2 separate regions of the Homo sapiens genome follow, and region 1 is linked to region 2. The links are contacts of gene promoters, found by promoter capture Hi-C in blood cells and fetal thymus (Javierre and others, 2016). All regions are on one chromosome and are shown on one strand. Each heading gives the region's core, a stretch centred on a gene start or on the middle of the fragment in contact. The rest is flanking DNA. Distances are from core to core; before and after follow the strand shown. Region 1 has its middle 3.9 kb from the start of ZMAT1. Region 2 holds the start of CSTF2 (cleavage stimulation factor subunit 2).

Region 1 (2,700 bases), core at 44-2,543, 1.1 Mb before region 2:
ATTGTCACTTGAATGCGGGGAACAGTTTTTATCCAAAAGAACAACTCTAGACACCACCTGGAAGGAAAGTTGATGCCTTTTAAAGCAAGACCTGCATGGCGATATAAAGAGGATGAATAACATAAAATATAAAAATCAGAGATCAGAAAGGCACATGAAACAAAGGAAAATGGAGTGATGAAATCGTTCACCGACTCCATACTCCACAGAATGATTAAGTGACCAATGTCTAACTACATTCTTCCTTTAACCAATTATAAAGAAGCTTAGGTTAAAGGAAGACACTTCCCTATGGTTAAAGTCAAACAGTGAGAATGTTCTGGAACTTTCTAGATGTTTACATAGAAAGGAAACATTAAGAGTGATTCTGGCATAGATCTGGATACGAAATCACATGCTAGGATATTTCCTTCAGACCCTCTCTAGGCTGACAACATGTGCGTGTGTCTGTGATGAGGGTAGGGAGCAGAGAACAAGAATGAGAATATATGAAAGTGTACACTATGAGACAAATACATTAGGCATACACAGATCTATTTTTATAAAAGTTCTGTATAACTTCTTTTTCATTTAAATATATGTATGTATATACATTTGACAACATTTCATATCAATAAAGATAAATTTCTATAACTTCCATTCCCTACCAGGTACATCCTGTACTATTGTAATTTTATCTATCACTATTAATCCTGAAACAATGGGGAAATATATGCATTAATTAGCATATAGTTTCATCTTAAGCCTGACTTACCACAGGCTATCTACTCATAGTATTTTCATATATACTTTCCAGATATATTTTATGTGTGTTTATATATAATTCCAAGGCTATATGTTCATATGTGCAAATACATTTTTGTTCAAAATTGAGTCACATTATACATACTGCTATTGTCTGAATGTTCCCCAAAATTCATATGTTGAAACTTAATTGTCAATGTAATAGTGTTAAGTGGTAGTGCCTTTGGGAGGTGATTATTTGTATATCTCAATGTATCTTTTTATTTGTCTTTAATTTTAGTATTGTTAAACAACTTTGGATGTTTGCCATTGCTTCTCACTTTTGAATCATTTGTTAATAAAATTAAACATTACTATTATACCTAGTCAGATTCATGCCTATGTCAGTCATATTACTTATATGCTATTAAATTCTGTTTGGATTATTTCTCCCATTTTCTGATGCCTTTAAATGTATTGTGTTTGTTGATAATGGCTTTTCAATTTCCCCATATTATTCCAAATGAGGTATTTTATATTTCACTGCAAATATAGTGAAATGACCACTGGTATGCTTTTTGTTTTTTGCTGATTTCTCACATATGCAAAAATATTCTCTCATTTCTTTTTAGCACCTCTACCCCTACCTTACACGCAACTTCCCTCCCCTAATCCCACCCTTGTTTCCTTTCTATGATTTGGGGGATTGGTAGTTGAAATTCATTTCAATTAATACAGTCTCCTCCCTGTGGGTCAATGATATAAACAGACCATTTTAATCAATAAGTAAAGAACCATGGAGAAGTTATTTACACTCATGAGACTGAGTTTTGCGTTTTTAAATGGAATTAATGAGCCCAATATAACATCACTTTTGTGAGAAGACTGGGAAATTCTAGGAAACATCTGGCCCATAGCAGGCTTTCCTTAATTGCTACTCTGTGCTATATTCCACCTCCTCTTTCCTGTGAGATAAATTACATTGGCATTCACTTAATAACATTACTGTCATTGAGAGCAATGATAAGTATAAGAGGAGGGAAAGGGAAGTGTGTGCTTATTGTCACAGTGCATGACTGAGGTTTGGTGGCATTTTCATGTTATGGCATGTCACCAAATGCAGCTGAAGGATGGGGAGAAAATTAACTAATAATTTTATTTTATTTTGTGCATTATCCTACCACTTCTTTTTACTGTTAAAGTGGCAGAGACAGAATTTTCCGTGGATCCTAAGAAGGACAAAGTAATTCCATAATTTAATATATATTTGTTGACTGATATAGTTGTTACTGTCAGACAGAGGTCAGGGAACTGCAGAAAACCACTGCTAATCTCACAGATCCTCCAAAGCCTTTGAGTACAAGACTTACAGAAGAATGCTAGGGTCTGAAAAAAAATTTGTTTTATATCTGCCAGATTCCACATAAAGAACAGTTTTTATTTCCTTTCTATTTAAAAAATATCATACAAATACATAGCATTGGTGATACCTAAACCATATTCAGAATCCTGCTGGCAAGAAGTTTAGGAAATGTAATTCACAGGATTCCAGCTTCTGCAACAAAGGAGAGAACATAGACGAGGATGAAAAAGCTTCCAACTGCCAGATGACCTTATCTGCGTAAGTCTCCTGGATTTTACTTCTTTAACCTTTCTGATTCTTTTAAGTACCTGATATTCTACATTAAATATTTTCTGTTTGAAATACCTAGTGTAGTTTCTTTTTTGCTGACTGAATCTTGAGTGATGCCCACTCCTCCAGAGATTCTGAATGAATATTTCTTACCTAAGTGGATTGTGATTCATATTTCAAAAAACAATGTTTTTGAGAGATCCCTCCATATCAGAAGGAATAAAATCACACCCCATTTGTATGCTTGCCTTGTCCTACTAGCTACTTGAGCAGATTATTTCTTGTGTCTGGCCTATCCAGTAATTTCCTTAACGAGTAAAATTTGATCTAACTTACATAAGGAC
Region 2 (2,700 bases), core at 71-2,570:
TGTATGTGAAAAGTCACCAGTAAAGAAAACCTGCCATTATTACTAAGAGCCAAATCTGTGGTGATTTTTAAGAAGCTCCCACCATGAAGGAAAAGGGGATCTCACCTGAAACTAACAACAGGTCCAACCTCAGAAAAGATGTCCTTCAACTGCTCTTCAGTAGCTTCATAAGGAATGTTCCCCACTAAGGAAGAAAATAGGTAACATTAAAATTCTGAGTTTATAACATAGATCTTTAGTGAGAAAGTAAACTTATATCATCAAATATAAGACTCAAAATAGTGTTCTCCAATCCCAATTCCATTGTATTTCTTCAGACCTCTTAACAAAGGAAATATACCACTGAAACTAAATACAAAATGTGTAGGTACTCTCAAATGTTAGTTCTCAGACTGATCTGACACGTGTTAGATTTTCCTTAACTTTGGTGCAAATAAATACTTTGGCACTGGTATTTACCTAAAGATCTGCAAGTCTCATCAGTGACTACAAAAAATATCAATGTTATTTAATATAATTTTTAAAACAGGTTCCTATGTATTTCCACACATACAACATTTAAGGGAGAATGACGATGAATGTAGTGAAAGATGTTTAAAAAGTATTCTGAACTACTTTGTCATGTCCCTTTCAAATGGTACTCTAAAATAATCACACGTATTTTTAAAAACAACTTATTTCAGCCAAAAAGATAATTCAGAATCGTTTCGATCCTTTTTAAAATTCCTCTGAGGAGATCTTAATAGTTCATTCATTCATTCACTTACAAGCCATCTCAGGACACCAGGTGGCCGCTACCACTATTGATGCACTAAAATGTTACAGATAAAAAGCAAAGGATGAAAGTCCTTAGGAGAGGACAGTAAGTGGACACTAGGATCTATACCCTCAGCATATAGTCTGTATTCTGGGGCAGAGGATGAGAAGTAGTACGGGACAGTGAGGAGCTGTTACCGTGAGCCTTCTCCTCTAGAGAATAATTGAAGCTCATGAAAGGAGAAACGCACAGAAGCTGAACGCTAGTCTAACTTCCCCACTGATATTGCGGAAAGCCTACGAGACCTCGGCAGAATGGGAATATCTCTTTGCTCATGAGTCCACCAGGTTGGACGCCCTACAGGATAAGCAGGGAGAACTGCACGTCCGAACCGTCAGCGGCTCCGGTAGCGATTCATGAGATAGAAGGTGCAGAGGGGAGTCCCTCCCCGAAGCTTGACTACAACGAATTCCTCTCACCGAACACAGAACGTAGAGAACGATCCACCGCTGGGTCTCTCACAGTCAAACCCGCCATAGCTCTGTTGAGTCGGCTTCCGGTGCGCCAAAGCACACTTCCGTACGGAGCACAAGCCCAGCGCTGAGCACGCTTCCGTACGGCGCGTGAGCCGGAAGGGCCTGGGCGGAACGGACGCAGAGCCCCTCCCCTGGAGACATTCTGTTAGCCGCAGGCGCGAGTTGCGTCCACCGGAGGGCTATATTCTCACTCCTGAGATTAACTCTGTTCCGAGCCAGATGCAGGCGAGTCCAGGCTAATTTGAAGGGTTTCAGCCTGCAGACTTCCTTCTTATTAATTTTCTCTTAGGTTGATGCAAGTACTCCTCAACCACAATAAAGGCGCAGCGGCTTTACCATGGTAACAGGGAAGTCCTTTGCTGACAACTGTGGGGCTTGCATTTTAGTTCCGCCCTATCAAGGGAGGGAAATGCTTGGGCCCGTCCCAGCAGCGTGCATATTATTTGCTAAACCTGTTCGTGTGTGGAGTGAGATGAGGAAAGGGCATGCCAGCCGAGAGAAGCATAGTTAAAGAAATGGGAGAGGTAAAGGGAGAACAGACCTCTGTCCTCGTGTAGTCCGTGGGTTCCATGTGCTTCGTGGTGGGGCGGTGCGGCAGGGGATTCTGGCAGGCAGAGTATCGGAAACAGAAAACGTCATTCATCGGTTTTTCCACACTTTGGTGCCCACGCGCCTGGGATATGGCATGCAGGGCAGGTCGTTGTATCATCCCGGAAAGGCAGACCCTGCCGGGGTTGGAGGAAATCCAGGGGGCACCTCAGGAGGACAGGGTTAGGGGATAAGCAAAGGAAGGAGCCAAGAGCGCTACCTTTGAGGGACTTGTCCGAAAAAGGAAGACGGTAAAATAGCCACGGAATTGGAGGCATGGACGTTTTTATTAATTCCACATGTATTAAAAGTATATGGGCCGGGCGCGGTGGCTCATGCCTGTAATGCCAACACTTTGGGAGGCCGAGGCGGGCGCATCACCTGAGGTCGGGAGTTGGAGACCAGCCTGGCCAACATGGAGAACCCCTTTTCTACTAAAAATACAAAATTAGCCGGGCGTGGTGGCGCATGCCTGTAATCCCAGCTGCTCAGGAGGCTGAGGCCAGAGAATCGCTTGAACCCGGGAGATGGATGTTGCGGTGATCCGAGATCTGCCATTGCGCTCCAGCCTGGGCAACAAGAGCGAAACTCCATCTCCAAAATAAAAGTATATGAAATATGATAAATATTTAGAAAAAATTAATAAGTGCTAGTTTACACCATGAAGCATATCACTTTAAGAAGTAATTCTGGTAAAGATGGAAAGTTTGAGAAGAGTATACCCATTTCCATGACTCTAGAGTCCCATTTGCAATCACTGTGTGACCAAGAGGACACCTTGTGTAATGGAATGGTCCAAAAGGAGATTTACAGCTCTGT

The links. Contacts are between HindIII fragments. The CHiCAGO score rates a contact against its expected background, and 5 or more counts as called.
Region 1: a contact is called between a fragment that was not itself captured here and the fragment with the promoter of CSTF2 in region 2, in 2 of 17 cell types (activated CD4 T cells and total CD8 T cells). The highest score is 5.7, in activated CD4 T cells.

The regions. Positions count from the first base shown.
Region 1 is chrX:101,934,594-101,937,293 of GRCh38, reverse strand. No RefSeq gene overlaps it. Among named protein-coding and RNA genes, the nearest start is that of ZMAT1, 3.9 kb to the right of the region's middle. The HindIII fragment of the contact is 2,051 bases long and covers 268-2,318 here.
Region 2 is chrX:100,819,011-100,821,710 of GRCh38, reverse strand. CSTF2 (cleavage stimulation factor subunit 2) reads right to left here and starts at 1,320. Exons shown (of 14, transcript NM_001325.3): 1 at 1,237-1,320; 2 at 106-184. The coding sequence starts at 1,294. RefSeq lists enhancers at 1,089-1,248, 1,529-1,578, 1,589-1,648. The HindIII fragment of the contact is 13,366 bases long and covers 1,214-2,700 here.